Linked DNA regions of Homo sapiens: all the other regions are linked to region 2. The links are contacts of gene promoters, found by promoter capture Hi-C in human tissues and cell types (Jung and others, 2019). All regions are on one chromosome and are shown on one strand. Each heading gives the region's core, a stretch centred on a gene start or on the middle of the fragment in contact. The rest is flanking DNA. Distances are from core to core; before and after follow the strand shown.

What was found. The method cuts DNA at HindIII sites, captures the fragments that hold promoters and counts their contacts. A contact is called where the count stands out against the background at its distance.
Region 1: a contact is called between the fragment with the promoter of EID2 here and a fragment that was not itself captured in region 2, in 1 of the 25 tissues and cell types used here (H1 embryonic stem cells).
Region 3: a contact is called between the fragment with the promoter of LGALS13 here and a fragment that was not itself captured in region 2, in 2 of the 25 tissues and cell types used here (mesendoderm cells and thymus).

What each region holds. Positions count from the first base shown.
Region 1 is chr19:39,538,794-39,543,645 of GRCh38, reverse strand. It overlaps EID2 (EP300 interacting inhibitor of differentiation 2), which reads left to right and starts at 3,485. Exons shown (of 1, transcript NM_153232.4): 1 at 3,485-4,852. The coding sequence starts at 3,567. The coding sequence ends at 4,277. RefSeq lists an enhancer at 3,230-3,729 and a silencer at 3,701-3,780. The HindIII fragment of the contact is 2,915 bases long and covers 827-3,741 here.
Region 2 is chr19:39,783,299-39,787,745 of GRCh38, reverse strand. It overlaps LEUTX (leucine twenty homeobox), which reads right to left. Exons shown (of 3, transcript NM_001382345.1): 2 at 3,068-3,219; 3 at 1,455-2,048. The coding sequence ends at 1,611. Among named protein-coding and RNA genes, the nearest start is that of LEUTX, 6.7 kb to the right of the region's middle. The HindIII fragment of the contact is 5,263 bases long and covers 138-4,447 here.
Region 3 is chr19:39,599,443-39,603,796 of GRCh38, reverse strand. LGALS13 (galectin 13) reads right to left here and starts at 1,273. Exons shown (of 4, transcript NM_013268.3): 1 at 1,214-1,273. The coding sequence starts at 1,228. The HindIII fragment of the contact is 10,640 bases long and covers 1-4,354 here.

The DNA of each region.
Region 1 (4,852 bases), core at 2,236-4,735, 240 kb after region 2:
GTGGAGATGAGTTATAGAGTTAGAGAGAGAATGAGAAGTATGAAATTCCTCATGAGCACTAGTCTTGAAACTGATGAACCATCATTTCTACCACATCTTATGGGTCAAACAAGTCATAAACCAGTTCTCATTCAAAGGATGGAGAAAAAAAATCTACTTCTTTTTTCTAATTATTATTGAGACAGAGTCTTACTCTGTCATCCAAGCTGGAGTGCAGTGGCACAATCATGGCTCATTGTAGCCCTGAACTCCTGGGCTCAAATGATCCTCCTGCTTCAGCTTCCTGAGTAGCTAGCCACACACTACCATGTCTGGCTAATTTCTTCTTTTAGAGACAGGGTCTTGCTATGTTGCCCAGGCCTGGTCTGGAAATCCTGGCCTCGAGCAGTCCTCCTGTCTTGGCCTCCCATAGTGCTGAGATTACAGGCATGAGCCACCACGCCCAGCCAAGAATCTATGTCTTTTTTTTTTCTTTTTCTAGACAGAATCTCACTGTGTCACCCAGGCTGGAGTGCAGTGGCGGGATTCTCCAGGAGAATCACTTGAACCTGGAAGGTGGAGGTTGCAGTGAACCAAGATATCGCGCCACTGTACTCCAGCCTGGATGACAGAGCCAGACTCTCTCAAAATATATATATTAATTGGATTCAAATTCTCTCTCTCTCTCTCTCTCTCACACACACACACACACACACACACACACACACACACCTCTGCTGTAAAGATTTTAAGCAATATGGAGCCCCTGATCCCAGCTGCCTTAATGGTTTAGTCTACAACATGGTTACAATCATCCTCAAGTCATCCCGAAATAGTGGCAGTGAATTACAAAGATGCTGCAGCCACCGCAGGCACAGTCTTGGGAGCAACAGCAAACCTGGACTACCTCTCAAATTTTTGTTTGTATCCCCTCACATTATCACCAAGTTTTTCTGCCTTCCTCTATTTGTAGCTTCTTATTTTAGTTCACTTCATTTTCCTAGAACCATTTTTATATCACTTCCGGATCTAATAAACCATCATTTTACTTAGAGCAATTTCTATTCTTAGAAAATCAGAGGGCCTTTCAGCTTCTGCTGTAAGGTGACTCTTAGTCCAGAGAACAAGATTATATCCGCTTCTGTAGGATTACAGCAAATTACTATGATTTCTACTTCTTCCTGTGATAATATATGTTGTCACCTAAGTCTGGAACTTCCTTTGTTAAATATTTGTGACTCTCCAGGCAGCCTGAGGGTGAGAACAATAGATCTGTCTCCAGCCTAGCCTGGGAGCTGCCTTAAAGGAGCCGCACACTTAGTGATTGCAGAGATGCTGGTGGGAAGCAGCAAGTAGACTAGCTGTTGTGTTTTATTAATTTGGTGCTTGGACCAGGAAAATTAAAATGCAGTCTTGTGCTCTGTGGATGAGACCTTACTGCCTCAGAATAGCTACTTCTGATAGGGCAGAGAACGATAAGTCACTTAAGTCATTTGTTGATGGTCATGAATCATGGCATCATGACGGGGACCACCACCAGCAAAATCAAATCAAATTATTTTGTTTGTTCACATTAATCAGAACAAAGGGAAATTAATTGGAGAGTCAGTATATAAGATGCATGTTTTAATATTACAAGATCCATAAAAGAATGGTAATAAGCCGGGCACAGTGGTTCACGCCTGTAATATCAGCACTTTGGGAGGCCAAAGCCTGGCGGATCATGAGGTCAGGAGTTCGAGACCAGCCTGGCCAATATAATAAAACCCTGTCTCTACTAAAAATACAAAAATTAGCCGGGCATGGTGGCGCGCACCTGTAATCCCAGCTACTCAGGAGGCTGAGGCAGGAGAATCACTGGAACTGGGAGGCAGAGGTTGCAGTGACCCAAGATCACACCACTGTACTTCAGCTTGGGCAACAGAGCGAGACTTCATAAAAAAAATGGTAATGAATATAATAACTATCAAGAAAATAAAGTATTTATAAACCATAATGAAAATGTAGGCTGGAGGCCGAGTGCTCTGGCTCACCCTATAATCCCAGCACTTTGGGAGGCTGAGACAGGCGGGTCGTTTGAGCCCAGGACTTTGAGACCAGCCTGGGCAACATAAGGAGACCCTGTCTCTACAAAAAAATTAAAAATTAACTGGGTGTGGTGGTGTACACCTGTAGTCCCAGGTACTCAGGAGACTGAAGTGGGAGGATTATTTGAGCTCGGAAGGTTGAGGCCACGTTGAGCTGTGATTGTGCCACTGCACTCCAGTCTGGGTAACAGAATGAGATGAAAGAAAGAAGGAATGAAGGAAGGAAGGAAGGAAGGGAGTGAGGGAGGGAGGGAGGAAGAGAAAATGTGAATGGATGAATCTCATAAAAATAATGCACAAAAAAACAGATACAAGTGTGTATGTGAGAAAACATTTTAAATGGTCCATTTCTGAGGCATGATAAATCTAAGTACTGGCAGCCAGCCTGCAAATATAACAAACTGCAGGGCTCATCCACCTAGAAGGTCACAATAAGGGAACAGAATGTAGAGGCGGGGTCAGCCCATAAAAGGGAAGAAAGTGGCCGGCGCAGTGGCTCACGCCTGTAATCCCAGCACTTTGGGAGGCCGAGGCAGGCGGATCACGAGGTCAAGAGATCGAGACCATCCTGGCCAACATGGTGAAACCTCGTCTCTACTAAAAATACAAAAATTACGCAGGTGAGTGTGTTTCTCACATAGATAAAGTTCAGAATACAAACCAAACTAAACTACAGCATTAGGAATGCACCCTTAGGTGGTAAAATGAAAAGAAAAACAAGAAAGTGATTACCATAAGTATCAGCATAGTTGTTACTTCTGCGTAGAAAGGAAAGGATAGTGATAAGAAGAAGAGGAAGGGTTCTGGGATGCTGGAAATATTCCACTTCTTGGACTGTGTGGTAGTTAAACGGATGTTCACTTTGTGATAAATCATTCAGCTGTATATTTATGTTTTGTTTACTTTTCTGCATGTTATATTGCACAAATAAGATTCGAAAAACAAATGTCCAAGGTAGTCAATGCAATGTTAAAGATAACACGAAAAGACTGTAATTACAAAGCTTTGGTAGCTAGGACGATCCGTATGGATGAAGACAGGCAAAGGAATGAATGAAAAACAATTTAAAAATCCAGAAAAGACCATGAATCTAAAATATCTTGATATATAATAGAGGTGGCACATAATCACTGGAGAACAAAGAGAAACACCCTAGGACAGAACCTTGAGAACGCCTACAAGAAGCGATCTTGTAAGCGTTCCTCATAAACATCAAACTGGTTGAAATGTCCCCCGCCCTTCGTCGTTGGGATGTTTCAGATGCGTTGGCGCTTCCCGGCCTCGAGGGGGCATCTGGAGAACGGCGGGCGCCGGGAAAGTACGCATGCGCACTGCTCCCAGGGTTTGCGGTAAGAATCTATGCTCTCGCGCCCGGTTACGCACACTGCATTTACAGCGCGCATAGCGCCCACGCACGCGCACTGGGGTGTCCGCCGGGCATCGCTCTGTCCAGTTATTCCAGTTTCTCTGGGAGCAGCCGAGTTGACCCCACGGTCTGAGATGTCCAAGCTGCCCGCAGACAGCAGTGTCCCGCAGACAGGCGCGGCGAATGGTGACAGAGACGTCCCGCAGGCGGAGGTAGGCCGCGGGAGGCGGGAGCCGGCCCCGGCACAGCCTGAGGAGGCCGGGGAAGGCGCGATGGCGGCGGCCAGGGGAGGCCCGGTGCCGGCGGCCAGGGAAGGTCGGATGGCGGCGGCCAGGGCAGCCCCGGCGGCGGCAGCCAGGGGAGCCCCGGTGGCAGCGGCGGCGTTGGCCAGGGCAGCCGCGGCGGGCAGGGAAAGCCCGGCGGCGGCGGCGGCCAGGGAAGCCCGGATGGCGGAGGTCGCCCGCTTGCTGGGGGAGCCAGTGGACGAAGAGGGTCCCGAGGGCAGGCCCAGGTCCAGACACGGGAACGGAGGCCTGGCTGCGTTGCCCTATCTCCGTCTCCGCCACCCACTTAGCGTTTTAGGCATCAATTACCAGCAGTTTCTCCGCCACTATCTGGAAAATTACCCGATTGCTCCCGGCAGAATACAAGAGCTTGAAGAACGCCGCAGGCGATTCGTGGAAGCCTGCAGAGCAAGGGAAGCAGCGTTTGATGCCGAATATCAGCGAAATCCTCACAGGGTGGACCTCGATATTTTAACCTTTACGATAGCTCTGACTGCCTCTGAAGTTATCAACCCTCTGATAGAAGAACTTGGTTGCGATAAGTTTATCAATAGAGAATAGTTATGTGGTGACACTACTTCAAGAGAACCTCTGCATTCCAGTCATACCAATCCTGCAACTTGATTTTCAGAAGTCAAGAGTATATCGCGATAAGACAGTGCACAGGTGGAGGGGAAAAAAAGGGGGAGGGGGAAGCTTATCTTGAAAAAGCATCACAGAAGTAGAAAAAAATGTCGAAAGCATTATAACTGTAACGTTCTTTGAGTTTGTGATTGATCCACATTTTTCCCCCTGCATTATGGAAAATGTCTCTCAGCATTGCTTTATTACAAAGTAAAGGATGGTTTTATAAAATTGAGACTGATGAAACATCAATACTAGAGCCCATGAGGATGAAAGAAATTATCAAATAGTGCTGAACAGAATAAGATGTTAACGCTGAGTTATTAGGACTGGAAGGCTATGAAAAGAACTTGAAATTGTCGGAATATGTGCTCTCTTCATGTCATATTCAATAGAAGTTTCTAGTTTAAGATTGATTTTGTGTTTTCTTAGGCATTTCAAGTGACAAGCAAAGTAAATGTATATATTATGTGATAAATCATGTTTTCAAGAACGTCAAATTTCTGGACTTT
Region 2 (4,447 bases), core at 1,520-4,019:
TCAGGTCCCTGGGACTATTCTCATCTCCTGGAAATGCTTGTGCATCAGTTTAAAATCACCTCTTTGCTGTGATCTAGGGAGACTAGTGAATGTCAAATCCCTTCAGTTCCCAGAGATAGGTGATTTAGGATGCCGTGGAAGCTGCAAAAATTTGGGTGCTCACTGCATGGAAAAACTCCTTCCAGGGAGAGTCTGTAGACTTACCACTAGAGCAAGCAAGGGCAAAAGGCTTGGACAGTGTCTGAACTCCCATTCAGGCTCCCAAGGATCCAGCATTTGTCTGCCCTGTTGACTTCCAGATACAGGCTGGTTAAAAGCATGACTATCAAGCAGCAGCTGGAAGAGTGTGCTGGCAAATCCTTTTTGAGGAGTAACTGGGAGCTGTACATTTTGACCCCTTCTCTGCACTGCTCTGGTTGGGGGAGTGTGGTGGAGGAAGGCTAGCCCTGAAGTGCTTGTGTGCCTGCTTAAAACCACCTTTTTCTCTGTGAGCTAGGGAGACTCACATATGCCTAATCCCTTCCATTTCCAGAGCTAGGGGATTTAGGATGCAGTCCCTTGAGTGCAGGTATAAAAGTTGGGGTGCTCAATGTGTGGACAAACTTCTTCCAGGAGGAATTGATAGACCTGGATTTATTGCTGGGCTGAGCTGGGGTGAAGCTTTGGGTGGCACCTAGCTTCTGTTCAGGCTCTTGTAAGTCTGTAGTTTACCTACCTAGTCAACTCCCTGATGCAGGCTCGTTAGGAACTTAACCATCAACTGTTAGGGTGCTATATGTGTGGTTCACTGCTTCTCTCCTGGGGGAGAAGCTGGGAACTGGGGATTCCTTCCTGATTGTATGGCTCAGTGCCCAGGGTGGGTTTAGTGTTTCTGAGTGCTTCAGCTTTTGCTGCCTGTTTGATAAGACATTTTTTTTCTTGTCTTTTCTTCCTTTTCTTTTTTTTTTTTTTTGAGATGGAGTCTTACTCTGTCGCCCAGGCTGGAGTGCAGTGGTGCAATCTTGGCTCACGCAACCTCCGCCTCCCGGGTTCAAGCAATTCTCTTGCCTCAGCCTCCCAAGCAGCTGGGACTACAGGTGCCCACCACCACACCCAGCTAATTTTTTGTATTTTTAGTAGAGACAGCGTTTCACCATGTTAGCCGGGATGGTCTTGATCTCCTGACCTCGTGATCCACCCACCTTGGCCTCCCAAAGTGCTGGAATTACAGGCGTGAGCCACCGCGACTGGCCTGCTAAGACATTTTCTTAGTTGCCTGGTGTGTAGGAGTCTCTCCACTCACTTCTGACTTTCTTCCAGAGAGAACTGATGTAGGCACAGACGTTTATTCAGTCCATCAATCAGGAACCTCCTATGTCACTGTGTTCCTGGCGTCACTTCTCTGAATACAATCTTTAATGCTGAAATTTGGGTGAGGAGGCACTCAAATGGAGTTCAGAAAATGCAGGCAATGATGAAAGGTAGGGGAGTTCCTTTATTGTTTTTTCTACAGAAAAAGATAAATTCCCAGCCCCTGATCTACTTAGACTGGGGTCAAACCATTAAAGATGTGTGGAAATATGTCTCAGTGGGTCAGATCCAGACCTCCCCTAGAAGTGATGTGTAAGAAGTTACACTGAAGATTGGAGCTGGTCATACTCAAGGCATACTGGAAAAAGATATTGATTTAGGCTGCTGGTGTCATCTTCCCCTGGCAAGTCATAGATCTTTACAAATTCATCTATTTCAAAGAGAGTGGAGGCCCAAGGAGGATTTGAAGCCCCCAGACATATCTGTTCAATGTCATATGACTGAGAATCCCAGGATGAAACCCTCGCAGAGGCGCTGGCTCCTCCAGGATTCTTGATACCAGAAGGCTCACGTAGATCATGGTCATTTGCATCAGAGATTCCAGGACTTACTGGACGAATGTTTGCAGTAGTTATGGCTGAGGGAGTCTCCTCCTTCTTCACTGAAGTTGTCTGGTTTGCTGGCCCTAGTGATGGCCGTGTCTGCATTTGCTGCCGCTGCTGCCTCTTCCATTTGGCACGCTGGTTCTTGAACCAGATCTAAGGAGGGAGGAGGGGGGAGGTTAATAATGGATGTTGAGTATAAAGGGGCATCCTCATGTTCCTCAGGAATTCGGTTTTTTGGTGTGAGAGAGAGTCTCACATTTATTGGAACAAGGGAAGCCCTTTCTACTCTCTGCTGTCCTGGGTTTCAAGGGAAAAGTGGGTGTAGGATTGTACTAGCAATGGGTGGAATATGACCTAGATTGTGATGTATTAAATAGAAGGGTGTTTTTATTAGTGGTGTATTTTTTTTTTTTGAGACAAGCTACCACTCTGTCACCCAGCCTGGAGTGCAGTGCTGCAATCATAGCTCGCTGCAGCCTTGAACTCCTGGGCTTAAGCAATCCTCCTATCTCAGTCTCCCAAGTAGCTGGGACTACAGCCATGTGCCTCCATGTCTGGTTAATTTTTAATTTTTGTTTGTAAAGACATGGTCTTGCTATGTTGCCCAGGCTGGTCTTAAACTGGGCTTAAGCGATCCTCCTGCCTCCACCTCCCAAAGTGCTGGGATTACAAGTGTGAGCCACCATTCCTGGTGCCCAGAGAAAGTATTTTAAAGTCAGAGTATGGGGTGAGAGTTTAGCTTGGGTCATCTTTAGGGTTCATCCAGGTGTTCTCCCATGAATACTTTGTGGGAACTTAGTGACAGGCATCTGGATGACTGTGATGGTCCTGATTAAGCAGAACCCATCCTGAATACACAAGAACAGACCCAAATGGGAGTATCTGAGATCCAGCCTCAAAGAGTCCTGTGTAGCATGGTGGGTCTGGAGTTGGAAAGGTCTGGGTTCAAATTCCAACTCTTGTGTTTATAATGCTTGGAAGACAGCTCTTCTATGTGAGCTTTAGTGTTCCTCAATAAAGTGGGTGCTCATGACAATAAAAATATAAAGTGCTTAACATCTGTCCTTACACATAGCAATTGCCAATAAATAGGAACTGTTATAACAATGATCAAAAGTGTGTGTGAAGCTCTGGGTTAGGCGTGCTACCTACAGACACACTTGGGAACAGACCTTTACTACGGATAGATCAAGTTGTAGCTTTGAAGCCAGTTTCCCCATTGTAGCCAAACTTGGGTGCATGGTCTTTTCAAGCAATTCTCTCAATGCTGTGAGTTGTTTGGAGAGAAATCTTGTGCGTGGCCGACGATAACGCCTTGGCCCTTCTGCAGAGGGAACAGATAAAAGGCTTTCATTAAAAAAATTCGGAAGGAAATGAGGAGAGTACTACATCAAGGGAACACCTGTGGGACAAAAGAATCTGAACAACAGCCTTGAGCCCTAGACCGTCCCTCTGACAGAGCCTACACAAATGAGAAGGAACCAGAAAACCAAATCTGGTAATATGACAACACAAGGTTCTTTAACATCCCCAAAAAATCACATTAGTTCATCAGCAATGGATCCAAACCAAGAAGAAATCCGTGATATACCTGAAAAAGAATTCTGAAGGTCAGTTATTAAGCTAATCAAGGAGGCACCAGAGAAAAGTGAAGCCCAATTTAAGGAAATTAAAAAAAAAGATACAAGAAATGAGGGGAGAAATCTTCAGTGAAATAGAGAGCATAAATAAAAAATAATAAAAACTTTAGGAGACAATGGACGCCCTTTTATCCACTAGACCTAAGAAATGAGATAGACAGCAACACAATGACCAAGAACCCAAAAGCAAATGCAATAAAAACAAAGATAAATAGCTAGGACTTTATTAAACTAAAGAGATTTTGCATGGCAAAAGGAACAGCAGAGTTCTAGACAACCCACAGTCTAGAAGAAAATCTTCACAATCTATACATTTGACAAATGACTAATATCCAGAATCTGCAACGAACTCAAACAAATTAGCAAGAAAAAAACCAAACAATTCCATCAAAAAGTGGGCTAAGGACATGAATGACATGAATAGATAATTCTCAAAAGATATACAAATGGCCAACAAACATGAAAAAATGCTCAACATCACAAATGATTAGGGAAATGCAAATCGAAACCACAAGAATGGCCATAATAAAAAAAATAAAAAAAAATAGATGTTGGCGTGGATGCAGTGAACAGGCAACACTTCTACACTGCTGGTGGCAGTGTAAACTAGTACAGCCACTATGGAAAACAGTGTAAAGATTCCTTCAAGAACTATAAGTAGAACTACCATTCGATCCAGCAATCCAACTACTGGCTATCTACCCAGAGGAAAATAAGTCATTATACAAAAAAGATACTTGCACATGTATGTTTATAGCAGTACAATTCGCAATTGTAAAAATGTGGAACCAACCCAAATGTCCATCAATTGAGTGGATAAGCTGTGGTGTGTGTGTGTGTGTGTGTATATATATATATGTATATATATATAATAATTTATGTATAATGTATATAAATTATATTGTATATAAT
Region 3 (4,354 bases), core at 24-2,523, 180 kb after region 2:
CACTGAAACCTCAGACTCCTGGGCTGCAGTGAATCTCACACATCTGCTCCCTCTTGAATAGCTGGGAAGAAAGGTACCTGCCTCTCTGCCAGTCAAATATTTAAAGTTTTTTAAAGAAAGGGTCTCACTCTGATACCCAGACTGGTCTCAAACTTCTGGCCTCGTTATCCTCTCATCTTTGCCTCCAAAATTGGTGGGATTATAGCCATAAGCCAGTGAACCCAGCTGCTTGGTTGATTAATATCCACTGTAAGCTCCTTCTGAACTGAGACTTAACTTGTTCTTTCATGGGTGTAGAACAAGTTTAGTCTCAGTTCAGACAGAGCTTACAGTGGATATTTTGTGTGATTCAGTCTCTGAAATCACGGCCTCTAATGTCCTTCCCTAACAAACCAGTATCTGCACACCCTCCTGTCACACAGTGGGAAGAACTGGATGGGCTAGGGACAGGCAAGCTGAGCCTGGGAGGCAAGAGACAGTGGTCACTCTGTGCAGACCCCACCTGAGGAACCATCACCCCCATAGTCTGCATTCCTCTTCCCCACTCTTACTGGGAAGAGACATCTACTGATCATACATTCTGCTCTCACAAGTGATCTGAAATAAGTCCTTGGTAACTCACAATCCCCAAGATCCCCACCAGTTAAGCCACATGGGATTCACATCAGAGGTGCTGCTGTGTGGGGAGAAACATTCACATGTGAAGAAAGCCACATGCATGATCCCACTTCAACATACAGTCACATCCCAGCACACACACTCACAGTCACACAGAGCCACACCACTCACTGCGTCACACACACCTGCTCACTGTGCACATAACGATGCTCATGCACTGGTCTGGCTGTGCTCACACACATACTCACATCATAGACAGGAAACAAAGCCGACTCACCCCTTTACTCTCCATTCACACACCTGCTCGTCCTGGTGGGTAATCCACCTCCCACTTAAAGTCACATTATCTCCGCAGAGTTTATGCTCATCAGACACCACCTCACACTCACCGAAGGTTACACTGGTCCAGGGTCCACACCGCAATCCCCACAAGCATCTCAGATACCATAGCCTCAGGGTTTCTATTCCACACCTCAATAGCTCTAAGTAAAGCATTCACAGCAAAAATGCTCATATTTTCATCTCATAAAATCTCCCATTTCTTTCTTGGTTTGTGTGACACGAAATTTTTGAAGGCTGTGCCTTTTCAACTCACGGGTAAAGAAGACATTGTTCTCTCCTTCTTGGCGACCTTCAGAATTGAGTCCAGTCTTCTGAGTGAATCTCTGAGTTGCAGCATTTAAATGACCCACTTCAGCCTTGCCCTCGGGCTTCATTCCAGATTCCAAGCTCCTCCCAGCAAGATTTCCTTGCAGCTTTAGACAGGTTTAGTTGTTAGGAAGAAACTCAGTCACAACCATAGCTATTTGCAGGTCTGTATCTGTAATGCAGCAGAAGTGACAGTGGGGGAGTTACCAGGCTGTGGATTGGGTTACCAGGGAAATGCATAGATAAAGATGATGGAGTGAGCGGTAGTGGTTGTAAAGCCCAGCCTTTATGCCTCTCAAGCCTTTTCTCATCTATGCAGAATATACCCAGAAAGTGTACATTTTCCCAATTTGTACAACGGCTGAAAAGAAAAAAGTTGGAGATTTTGGGGAAATACATTAGCCCTAGAAGGTAATGATTCTCTCTGCTTTTGAACGTTCTGGGAGAGCACTGACCTTGATCCTCAGGAGGATCTGTGGAGAGAAGCAGAGAAATTTCTTGCATGAACCTATTCCACACTAGGCTGCTTGGCTCTGCCAGGTAAGGGCCACTCTCACCTGACTGTCACACACCTGGGCTCTAGCTACACCCTCTCCTTTCTCTTGGTGTCCATGTAAATAAAAGTTTCAGAGACACTGTTTCTCCTGCAGATTCTGGGAGGAAGGTGAGATTGTTGTTTTTATTTGATTTTTCTTTCATTTTATTTTAGGTTCGGGGTACATATGCAGATAAAGTCGTGTCATGGGATTTGTGGTGTATATGATTTCTTCACCTGGTTACTAAGTGTAGTACTCAAAAGTTATTTTTTTTCTCCTCTTCCACCTTTCATCCTCCACCCTCAAGGAGGCCCCAGTGTGTGTTGTTTCCCTCTTGATGTCCATGAGCCTCCTCATTTAGTTCACGCTGATAAGTGAGAACATGCAGTATTTGGTTTTCTGTTCCTGCATTAGTTTGCTAAGAATAATGGCCTCCAGTTCCATCCATGTTCCTGCAAAAGACATAATATCATTCTTTTTTAGGACTGCATAGTATTTCATTGTGTACATGTACCACATTTTCTGTAACCGATCTGTCATTGATTGGCATTTGGGTTCATTCTGTGTCTTCGCTATTGTGCATAGTGTTGCAATGAACATTCATGTGCATATGTCTTTATGGCAGAATGATTTCTTTTCTTCTGGGTATACACCCAGTGATGGGATTGCTGGGTTGAATGGTAGATCTATTGTTAGCTCTTTGAGGAATCACCACACTGCTTTCCACAATGGGTGAACTAATTTACACTGTCACCAACAATGTGTGAGTTCTCCCTTTTCTCCACAACCTTGAAGCATCTGTCCTTTTTTGACTTTTTAATAACAGCCATTCTGACTGGTGTGAGATGGTATCTCACTGTGGTTTTGATTTGCATTTCTCTAATGTTCAGTGATATTGAGCTTTTTTATATGTTTTTTGGCCACCTGTATCCTTACTTTTGAAAAGTGTCTGTTCGTGTCCTTTGCTCAACTTTTTTGTTGTTGTTTTAAAACAGGTCTCACTCTGACATTCAGGCTGGAGTGATGTGGCACCATCTTGGCTCACTGTAACCTCTGGCTCCGGGGCTCAGGTGATTTTTCTAAGCTCAGTCTCCTGAGTAGCTGGGACTACAGGTGCATGTCTCCATGCTAGGCTATTTTTTTTTTCTATTTTTAGTAGAGATGGGTTTTTGCCATGTTACCCAGCCTGTTCTCAAATTCCTGGGCTCAAGTGATCCACCAGCCTTGGTTGCCCAAAGCGCTGGGATTACAGGCATGAGCCACTGTGTCAAGCTCTTTACCCACTTTTTTATGGGTTTGTTTGTTTCTTTCTCGTGAAGTTGTTGAAATTTCTTATAAATGCTCGGATATTAGACCTTCTTCAGATACATAGTTTGAGAACATTTTCTCCCATTCCTTAGGCTGTCTGTTTACTCTCTTGATAGTTTCCTTCACTGTACAGAAGCTCTTTAGTTTAATTAGATTCTGTTTGTCAATTTTTGCTTTTCTCCTAATTGCCTTTGACATCTTCATCATGAAATTTTTCTCATGCCTATGTCCCACATGGTATTGTCTAGGTTGTCTTCCAGGATGTTTATAGTTTTGGGTTTAATCTTTTAAGTCTTTAATCTATCTTTTGTATATGGTGTAAAGAAGGGGTCCAGTTTCAATCTTCTGCATATGGCTAGCCAGTTCTCCCAGCACCATTTCTTGAATAGGGAGTCCTTTTTCCATTGCTTGTTTGGTCAGCTTTGTTGAAGACCAGATGGTTGTAGGTTTGTGGCCTTATTTAGGGCTTTCCATTCTGTTCCATTGGTCTGTGTGTCTCTTTTCATACCGATACCATGCTGTTTTGGTTACTGTAGCCTTGTAGTATATTTTGAAGTTGGGTAATTTGATGCCTCCAGTTTTGTTCTTTTCACTTAGAATTGCCCCGGTTATTTGGCATTTTTTTGGTTCCATTTAAATTTTAAAATAATATTTCTTCTAATTCTGTGAAGAATGTCATTCATAGTTTGAGACAAATAGCCTTGCATCTAAATTTCTTTGGGCAGTATGGCTGTCTTAATGATAATTGGTTTTTCTTATCTATGAGCATGGAATGTTTTTCTATTTCTTTGTGTCATCTCTGGTTTCCTTGAGTAGTGTTTTGTAATTCTCATTGTAACGATCTTTTACCTCCCTGATTAGCTGTATTTTTAGGTGTTTTATTCTTTTTATGGCAAATTTGAATGGAATTGCATTCTTGATTTGTCCCTGTCGCTGTTGTTGGCATATAGGAGTTCTAGTGATTTTTGCATATTGATTTTGTATCCTGAAACTTTGCTAAAGTGGTTTACCAGCTTAAGGATCTTTCGGGTGAAGACTATGGAGTTTTCTAGATATAGAATCATGACATCTGCAAACAGGGATGGTTTGACCTCTCTTTGTATTTAGATACCCTTTCTTCTTTTCTCTTGCGTGATTGCTCTGGTCAGGCCTTCCAATATTATGTTAAATAGAAGTGAGGAGAGAGGGCACTGAAGAAATTGTGGTTTGAAAATCCAAGTTGAATTTCTGTTTTAGTCATCATG